Linked DNA regions of Homo sapiens: region 2 is linked to region 1. The links are contacts of gene promoters, found by promoter capture Hi-C in blood cells and fetal thymus (Javierre and others, 2016). All regions are on one chromosome and are shown on one strand. Each heading gives the region's core, a stretch centred on a gene start or on the middle of the fragment in contact. The rest is flanking DNA. Distances are from core to core; before and after follow the strand shown. Region 1 holds the start of NAA16 (N-alpha-acetyltransferase 16, NatA auxiliary subunit). Region 2 overlaps DGKH (diacylglycerol kinase eta).

What was found. Contacts are between HindIII fragments. The CHiCAGO score rates a contact against its expected background, and 5 or more counts as called.
Region 2: a contact is called between a fragment that was not itself captured here and the fragment with the promoter of NAA16 in region 1, in 2 of 17 cell types (monocytes and fetal thymus). The highest score is 6.1, in monocytes.

What each region holds. Positions count from the first base shown.
Region 1 is chr13:41,308,534-41,313,745 of GRCh38, reverse strand. NAA16 (N-alpha-acetyltransferase 16, NatA auxiliary subunit) reads right to left here and starts at 2,479. Exons shown (of 20, transcript NM_024561.5): 1 at 2,164-2,479. The coding sequence starts at 2,217. It also overlaps a transcript of MTRF1 not described here. The HindIII fragment of the contact is 1,668 bases long and covers 1,183-2,850 here.
Region 2 is chr13:42,106,073-42,111,284 of GRCh38, reverse strand. All of the region lies in intron 1 of DGKH (diacylglycerol kinase eta), which reads right to left. Among named protein-coding and RNA genes, the nearest start is that of DGKH, 60 kb to the right of the region's middle. The HindIII fragment of the contact is 6,038 bases long and covers 1-5,212 here.

The sequences.
Region 1 (5,212 bases), core at 1,230-3,729:
TTTGTCTCTTTCTAAAAGAGGGCATGGAATACCTCCAAAATTCAACAAACTGTAATGCTAATTAATATCCAGTCTGGGGAATAAGACATGCAGATACAAGCCACGTGGAACACGTAAAAAACCAGCTGGTCAGTTTGTGTGGATGTGTTTGAATTTTTTCAATAGAAAAAATTTTACTGTTGGTGGCAAAGCACTTTAATCCACTAAACTTTAAAGATAATTTTATTACAGAGACTTCTGTTTGCTATGGAATTTGTTGTAGCCAAATTTTACCCACATTTATTGCAATTGTGAAATGATAAAATCATTCGTTTATGCAGAATCCTCCTAAATTCACGCAACCTTGTCAGAAACATTACATACCTAGATTTAAAAATGTTTAGCTTGGCTGAGCACAGTAGCTCACATCTGTAATCCCAGCAATTTGGGAGGCTGAGGTGGGAAGATCGCTTCAAGCCAGGAATTCGACAGTAGCCTGGCCAACAAACCGAGACTTCCATCTCAAAATAATTGATTTTTTTTTAGTGGTTACCATTTCCCAATTTATTTGGGGATAAACCCTACCTTTTTTGTAATTTAAGAATAATAATGTAACTTTTTCCTTATGACACTGATCCATGATTTGAACTACAAAAAACTCGTATAAAGAGAAAAGAAGTGCTGTCATCTTTAAAGTATGATGCCAAATGTCCTGAAATCCAACTAGCGATTTATAAATGATATTATCATTAATGTTTCAGATTCCCAGGGCAAAAAAAAATTAAAAATAAAAATAAATAAATTACTTCTCCAATTCCATGCTGTGTAAAATAAAAGGGCATGAGAAGTAAAATAAAAAAATACAAAGCCCAATGAAGCAACCTGCCACGTGCTTTAATTATTCGTATTTTTAATGTTCTCACATTTGTATCTTATTATTGGTTCAAAACTAAGCACCACATAATATTTAAAATTTTTATCCCATCTACTATGTATCCTAATCTGAAGACTAAGTGTGAAGTTTCTATCGTCTTGAAACAGAACAGCTACTATGAATTATCTGCCGCTGTTCATACTTAAAATTACTCTAAAATTAGTATTTTATTTATAGTAAAGTTAAGCAACAACTAACAGCCATATAGCCAACCCAGCTTTCAATAAATTCACCTTTAAACCTAAATGCATGTTTAGCAAATAAAAGCTTTTTTTCAGGTGAAAAGATAAACTAGAAAAGACAGTTACCTACTAACAATATTAGTTTAAAACCTAGGGTAGCCAGAGGATACTGAGGAAAGCAAAGGAATGCTGCCTCTTCTCCTTGGAAGAACAGAACCTGGAAAGCTACCAGGGACGCTGGCACACAGCCCACAGAAAACTGCCCACCCGGCTCCGCAGCGGTCATCACTACGGGGCCATTATTCAGGCTTCTGCTCCGCGATAAAGTAAAAATGCTCCCCTCAAATGCAAAACCAGCCAGTCCACGCGGCTTTAATTACTCAAGCAAGGCCTGTGCGACTAAAAAGCAAACAGCTGTTTTGAAGTTGGTGACAACTCAGAAACGCACTTCAAGTCAAATATTCACTTCCAAAGAGGTAAATAAGGTACATTACAAACAGGCAAACTTTTTCCCAAAGGGAGGTGGTGCCAGGCCTGGCTTCCTAAAGTTGCCGGTTTTATTTCCTCGTAACCAGGAAAAATTCCACCATCGCATCGATCCCGCTTTAATAGGTATGCGGGTGTGCTGTGCAATCTAACTAAACGCAAAGCAGAGAATGCAGAACGCAAAACACCTAGCCGAGGAGAGACTGGCAAAATAAACCACCGGGGGAGGATCCCTGAGGGGCTGCTGCGAGCCCGGCGCGGCAGAGAGCACGGCAGCCACTACCGGCCGAGGCGGCTGTGCCCGGGCACTGCGGAGAGCGGCGTGAAGTTTCTGGAAAGAGCGCGGCGGGGGTGAGGCGAGCCGCAGAAGACCGCGGAAAGGAAGCGCACGGAGGAGCGGCTCGGCAGCCCCCGTGGGCCGGCCGGAGCGGGAAAGTGGGGTCCCGCGACCTCCGAGGTAAACAAAGAGCGGTGGGCAGCGGAGGCCAAGCCTGGCCCGCGCCGGCCGCCGCCAGACCGCTTGCCCTTAAGGCCCGAGGACCCGGGGACCGGGGGGCGGCAGCGCGGCCTACGGCCACTCACCAAGATGCGTTTGAAGAGGTTGCTCTCCTTGGGCGGCAGCAGCACGTTCGGCATCGTGGCCGGCAGGGAGGCTAGGTGGCCGGCAGGGAGGCTAGGTGCCCGGGCGCTCCGCTTCGCGGGGGTGGGCACCGGGACGAACCGCTGCTGAGAGTCGGGCTGCGGGCGATGGATTAGTTCATTGGTCTACAGTTGCAATTGGGCAGCCTGGCTGTTCGGCACGGGTGGCAATGGAGAAGGAAGGCGGTCTGAGCAGGACACGCTTCCCCTGGGCTCCGCTTTTTGGCCAGCGGCGGCGGCGGCGGTTCCCGCGCACTGCAAGATGGCAGCCAGGGTCCGCCTCCCGAGCCGGATCCTGTGCGCATGCGCGGAGCGCCCTTTGGCGAGGGGCTGCGGGTGACTACGGGGGCGTAGCGGGGACCAACCGCGTGGATTTGCCTTGTGCTGCGGCTCTCCTCGCCGCAATCTCGGCACCCCCTGGGGCTCAGGCGAGCTGTCACCAAAACCTTGGAGTCCCATGGGGTGGTGAGTCACCACCCTCATTCACCATTGCTCCTATGCATCAGAACGCCTCATAAGACTCCTACTTATTGTCTGCTTCTCCTTGCAATAAAGTAATAAATAAAAACGAGAATTTTCTTTTAAGTAGAAAAGAGAAGACACTGACTTGTATTGCACTCTTGATAAGCTTGTGGCGCAAGATAATGTTAGTTATGACTCTGAAGAGTCAGAGTTTTTTGCATTTCTCCCCATTTAGGAATTTAAGTGTCCGATGCAAAGTAGACTTTTGATGAAAGATGAACTTGTTTTCTTTCCTTTTCCTCCTTGATTCAGACTCTAAGTAGAAGCCTTCTCTTTCCAGGGCAAACCAAACAAACATTTACAATCTTTGTTTTTGTTTGGTTGGTTGGTTTTGAGATGGAGTATCGCTCTTGTCGCCCAGGCTGCAGTGCAGTGGCGCTATCTGGGCTCACTGCAACCTCCGCCTCCTGAGTTCAAAGGATTCTCCTGCCTCAGCCTCCCGAGTGGCTGGGATTACAGGCATGCGCCACCACACCCGGCTAATTTTGTATTTTTAGTAGAGACAGGCTTTCACCATGTTGGCCAGGATGGTCTTGATCTCTTGACCTCGTGATCCGCCCCCGCGTCAACCTCCGAAAGTGCTGGGATTACAGGCGTGAGCCACCACACCTGGCCGGAATTACGGTTTTATAAGGCCACTGGTCTTCTGAGTCTACCTACCCTTTCTCTTCAGATGGTTCCCCTTCCTGAAAGCCATATAATAATGGGAGAAACAGGCTTCAAATTCAGGATCTTCCAACTCTGGGATACTCTCTACAACAAATAAAAGGCAGCATATTGATGGTAATGTGTGAGTCTAGAAAGATACAACAGTGGCAAGAATAAACCATACATTCAGTGTAGGGTTAGTAGTAAGGTGTGTGTAAACATTAGGTACATAAGTTTATTTATACATGTGCTGAATCTTAATGGGTGCATATTTCTGAGACTATAAAGTAATTGATGAGTAACTGCATTTAGTCGGCTGTAATCAGAACTGGGCTGCCCTTTTTTATTTTCCTTTTTTTGAGACGATGTTTTGTTCTTGTTGCCGAGGCTGGAATGCAATGGCGCTATCTCAGCTCCCTGTAACCTCCGCCTCCCAGGTTCAAGCGATTCTCCTGCCTCAGCCTCCCAAGTAGCAGGGATGACAGGCATGCACCACCACACCTGGCTAATTTAGTATTTTTAGTAGAGACGGGGTTTCTCCATGTTGGTCAGGCTGGTCTCAAACTCCCGACCTCAGGTGATCTGCCCACCTCGGCCTTCCAAAGTGCTGGGATTACAGGTGTGAGCCACAGTGCCTGCCTATTTGATTTTCCTTCTTTCTAGCCTAAGTTGGTTGGACATGAAAGAATCATAGGAGTCTTTTTTTTTCTTTCAATCTCCTACGTTTCACACATGATTTTAAAGCATCATAGGAGTCCTTTAAAATAGGGAAAGTACTGTCATTAAAATTGGGGGTCCACAGCAATCCCATTGCTGGGTATATACCCAAAAGAATATAAATTGTTCTACCGTAAAGACACATGCACAGCCAGGTGCAGTGACTCACGCCTGTAATCCCAGCACTTTGGGCGGCTGAGGCAGGCGGATCACCCTGAGCTCAGGAGTTGGAGACCAGCCGGGGCAACATGGCAAACACACACACACACACACACACACACACACACACACACACACTAGCTGGGCATAGTGGCGAGTGCCTGTAGTCCCAGCTACTTGGGATGCTGAGGTGCGAGGATCAATTGAGCCTGGGAGACAGGTTGCAGTGAGCCAAGATCATGCCACTGCACTCCAGCCTGGGCAACAAACTGCCTCAAAAAAAAAAAGGACACATGCACGTGTATGTTCATCGCAGCACTATTCACAATAAAAAGACATGGAAGTAACCTAGATGCCCATCGGTGGACTGGATAAAGAAAATGTGGTACACCATGGAATACTACACAGCCACAAAAAAGAATGAGACCATGTCCTTTGCAGCAACACAGGTAGAGCTGGAGGCCATTATCCAAAATGAATTAATGCAGGAACAGAAAATCAAATACCACATGTTTTCACTTACAGGTGGAATTATAAACACTGAGTACCCATGGACACAAATAAGGGAACAGTAGACACTGAGGCCTACTTGAGGGTGGAGAGTAGGAGGAGGGTGAAGATTAAAAAACTACCTATAGGGTATTATGCTGATTACCTGGGTGACAAGACTGTCTGTACACCAAACCCCCACAACATGCAATTTACCTGTGTAATAAACCTGAACATTTACCCCTTGAGTCTAAAATAAAAAATGGAAAGAAAAAAATAAAAGTGGGGGTTCAAGGGCCTATGTGTACTCTGCAGAGCTCCCAAGCTGCCCAAGCTGTTAGGAAGTAGGCAAGTATAGATGCTTTAGGAGCTTGCCTTAGTCGCACCTGTACTAGTGGCAGTCCCCCACCCGGAGAACTGAGCAAGCACACAGAAGTGCCTCCTCTCAGCACCCTCA
Region 2 (5,212 bases), core at 1,314-3,813, 800 kb before region 1:
TAATCACCCTCTGTATCAGTAAACCATCTAGTGATTGCTAATGTACTTTGTCCCTTGCAATGGCTTATAATTTTCTCGAGAATATCTATAATGATGTAATTACCTCCTTGAGACTGTATTTTGTGAACATTTATTTATTAATTTCTAAAATTAAGCTGTCTCTCCTTTTTTTATATGTACCTTCTTTAGAGCAGTTTCTGAATGTATTTTTCTTTTTTTAATTTTTATTTTAAGTTCCGGGGTGCATGTGCAGGATGTGCAGGTTTGTTACGTAGGTAAACATGTGCCATAGTGGTTTGCTGCACCTATCAACCCATCACCTAGGTGTTAAGCCCAGCAGGTATTAGCTATTTTTCCTAATGCTCTTCCTCCCCCCACTGAGTGTATTTTTAAATTAGTATTAGGTAAAAGTATATGGCTTTATAACGTACCGTTACATGCAGAAGGTACAAAATGTACATGCTGTATAAATACCAGACATAACAGTTTTTTCATAAAATATAATGAACTACCATGCATTACCACAAGGTGGCAGTGGTGCTATGCTAATGATTAGGATTTTCTTTCTCAAATGTGAACACAGATGGGCTTTTCTTCAGTTGCACAAATCCTTCCCGTAACTGGTAAATGCCTGAATGTCGTATGTGTAACTGTGTTGTAAATGGGTAAAACAACGAATGAATGAATGAATGAATGATTATCCTTCAAATTCTGAATTTACTTCTTCCTTATCAAATGCCCCTACTCACATCCAAGAATAATCCCTTTGCCCACACATGACATTTTGATGTAACCAACCACTTTCCCCCATGGCCACAATGATGCAACTATTTTGATGTGGGGACATTCTGATGTTGTCTAAAATAAACCACTAGACATCACGTTTGTTTTTTTAACTAATAACTAATGTGCAAAGTAGAGAGCCTCACACCATACCTGAGTCTCACAGGACTGCTGCGCTTACAATGTCCCCTATCCTGGAATGCAGTTTGTGGCTGCAGGAGGAGCTGGGGGTCAGTGGTAAGGTCAAGGGTGGGATGGGAAACAGGGTGAAGTGCAGGCATCTGACTGCTGAGCCACAGACAATCAGGAATCTCACATCTACCACATACAGTTATCTCAGAAAGAGCTACTCAGCATTTCACGCAAAAGATCTGCTTATTTTCTGGAATTTCAACTGCATCTTCAATAATCTGCCTCTGAAATTCTCTAGTTCTTTCCCCAAAGAATATCTGAGTCCCAACTACATGGGAAATCAGAAATCAGTTAGAAATCTGTCAGTTCTCTGGATGGGTAGACAGATTAGATACATAGATAGATAGATATAGATAGATACACATATATATGTTATATTTAATATCATAAACTCCACTCCAATGATGATTTTGATGGACCAGACTGATACCCCTAAAAAGGATAACCCAGTTCTAGTAGATTTTTTAAAAATATCTTATTAATAACTGTTCACAGAAATGAAGAGAATCAAATGTGAGTGTCCTCTGTGATTAGCATGGAACCAAGAAATGGTTAGCATGGAACCAAGAAATGGTCAGAGATGAAGGCTGTGCAAATTACTAGAAAAAACAGCAACAGACACACACACACACACACACGCACACACACGCACGCACAGGCACGCACGCACAGCTGCACATGGGTTCTCTACTTTGGTCTTGACAGCATTTTCTTGCATCCCTTCATCTGGATCCATCCTGTCTTCCATTTATTCCTCCTTTGAGATCTTTCTATATTTCTCTATCATTTGCCAAAAAAATCTAAGCCCTCTCTCCCTTAGGCTACTTCTGTTTATTGTTCTTATTTCCACCTTTGCGTTGTGGTGTAATCGTCCATCTCCATCATGCACAGAGGTGCAGAGGTACGGCCTGGGTTCAAACCTTGGCTCCACGGCTGACTAGTTGTTAAAGACTTTGAACAAATTACTTAACGTTTCTGTGACTGAGTTTCTGCTTCTTTATGGATAATAACAATAACTAAGCCATAGGGGTGTTGTGAGGACTCAGTGAGTCAATGCATGTAAAGTATCTGCAATGGTTCCTGACACACGGTGCTCAGTAAATACCAGCTGGTCTTGTGTTACTCTCGTTCCTGTCCTTTATTAGACAGTAAATGTCCCCAAGTCAGATTCATGTTTACTTCATCTTTGTCTCCTTAGCACCCAGCACTATGCCTATCACCTCAGTGGTACTTACAATTTGTTTGTTAAACTAAATTGAACTAGTCCCTCTGTCTTTCATCTCTAATCGTTCTCTCTCCATCCATTCCTTCCCGTTGGCATATCTTATTTTTAAAAATAACAACTTTTTCCACCTCTTGATTATGTCCCAGCTTCCAAGCTATGCCTTCCTCTCCATTATGACAAAACCGCTTTAAAAAATTAGAATCCTCTCGCTGCCTCTGTCCTTTCCTTTCCTTCAGCCTTACTGCATGCATTATAGCTTCCACTCCCTCCTTTTCAGGAAATCTACCCCTTGGCTATTTCCAATTACAGCCTATGTGCCAAATCTCTCTGAATGAACTTCTTCCCATAGTTCCAATTATCTCCTCTAAATATATACATAACTCCTAAAATAAATTTCTGTATTTATTCTCATTTTCACTCCAGCTCCATTTACAACTGCCTGCCTGACATCTCCACTTAGAGATGCCGTCACCACCTGAAACTCAAGTACATTTTATTTCACGTAACACATGTCTTAGTTTAATAGAAAAGACACTGGCCTGGCTTCAGAAAACCTAGATTCTAATTCCAAAATTGCCAGCAGCTAACTACACGGCACTGGGTAAAAGTCACTCTATACGGAATTCCAAATGAATTCAGCACCTTCCCGTGGCAATTCTGCTCCTCTTCCTATGACCTCACCTGCTAGCAGCAGTGTATTTTCCTAAGCACTGCTTAGGAACCCCAGAACTCCCAACCTATCTTTTATTTTCCCTCACCCTTAAATTTATTTTCCCTCACCCTTAAATTAATCTGCCAATCAAAAGGTTTCTGAAAACTGGTCTTCCTTTTTGCTCCTGTGCCCAGTGACCTAATGCTTGTGATTTTATTATTCTTGCCTAGACTATAACAATGACCCCCTATGAAGAAATGCTTCCAAGACCAGCACACCAGAAAGAACCTCCTGATGGTGAGCAGGGCCAGAACCACCACCTGCCTGTCACAACACTAACTCTTCATTTGATTCCTCTTGAAGTTTGGCCCGAGTGTGAAAAATGACTCTTCTTTTAAGGACTCGTAATAAAGCAGAGGTGACACAGAACACTCAAACAAGACTTTTCTAAAGGTTGGCACTAATAAAAGGGAAGTAGACAGAAAGTACCATTTTAGACAATAGGACAAAATCCCTTTTGTCCTCCATGCCTCTGAGCCCAAAGAGAGACTCTAGGACCCTTCTGTCTCAGCTCCCCCATCAGGGGCATACCAGGGGTCCCCAAAGGCCAAGGAGCACAAGCTCAGAGAGACAGCACACTCAAGGTCTCCACACCAAAGCTAAGAAGCCGAGCCCTCCTGCTTGCCTGTCTACGATCTGTCCTTGCAGTTCTTGTTCCTGTACTCACAGCGGGGCTGCCTTACCCGGGCAGGCCTCAACTGAACACCACAGTCCCACAAAAGTCCCCCACTGTTCACAAGACAATCACATGGACAGAAACAGGAAAAACAGATGTATTTCCTTACACTGAACTAGCCCCCTGTCTAATTAATCCTCCATACTCCCTCCCTCCCTCCAGAATTGTTTCCTTAAGGCAGATCTCATCTGGTCACTTCCCTGCTCAAAATCTTTATTGGTTGTTCATCAACTACAGAACAAGGCAAAGCCCTTTAATTCGGCATGGAAGGCCTCCCACTGGTTTCATCTTCACAGCTTCACCCTCTTGAAACATCACTTCTATCCCCACTCCCCACTGCCTGCAGTGTCTGCTCCTGGCATTCTGGTCTACCTGCCATTGGCCAAACAAAACACTCATCTTCCTCCCACCTTGGGTTCTTCATATGGGTGGCTTTCTGCAGGTGCAGAATGCACACCCCCGCCCTGGACCTTTCCTCTCGTGACTCACCCTTAAATGCTGGACTTAAATAACCGCTCCTCCAAATGTCACTCAAGCAGAGCTCACTCATTTGCAATTCTATGTTGTCAGTCCTCACAGAGCCATATTTGTAAATTGCAATAGATTCACACAGGAGTGTGATGCACAAAATTATCTTTTCTCTCTTTTTTTTTGAGACACAGTCTCACTCTGTCGCCCAGGCTGGAGTGCAGTGGTGCAATCTCAGCTCACTGCAACCTCTGCTGCCCAGGTTCAAGTGATTCTCCTGCCTCAACCTTCCGAGTAGCTGTGATTACAGGCACCTGCCACTGTGCCTGGCTACTTTTTTTTGTATTTTTAGTAGAGACGGGGTTTCACCATCTTAGCCACGCTGGTCTTGAACTCCTGACTTGTGATCCACCCGCCTCGGCCTTCCAAAGCGCTGAGATTACAGGCATGAGCCACCGCGCCCAGCCTCTTTTTTCAATATTTTCAGTGGTATATGAATTCTGAAATCTGTATTACAGTATGAGGAGAAGGTAAATCATAAAACAGGTTAAGTTTATCCACTCAATCTTTAGAAGATAGTCTAACTTTATCTCCCTAACCCCAAAAGTCATTCCAGCATCCAAATTACTTTATTTCTTCATCCTACCCACATGCCACTCTACTTGAGAATAGCTGTCTTGAAAAGAGTAGACTTTTTTCATTGTTGGGATGAAGTGAAGCATTTCTTTTCCTACGTCCTGGATGTGAGGCCATATCACATGTTACTCTCATTGTCTATGCTGCTCTGCACACGGTGCAGTCGTCCTCTGCTGAGAGTATGCAGAGCCAGGCAGGACTCGAAGGCTTGCTGAGCTTTTCACTTGGAAGGCATGGCAAATAAAGATGACTTCATCCAGATGCCTAAGAAACACACATTCCTGAGGCCAGGCACAGTGGCTCATGCCTGTAATCCCAGCACTTTGGGAGGCCAAGGTGGGTGAATCACCTGAGGTCAGGAGTTGAAGACCAGCCTGGCCAACATTGTGAAACCCCATCTCTACTAAAAATACAAAAACTAGCCAGGCATGGTGGTACACGCCTGTAATTCCAGCTACTCAGGAGGCTGAGTCAGGACCATCACTTGAACCAAGGAGGCGAAGGTTGCAGTGAGCCAAGA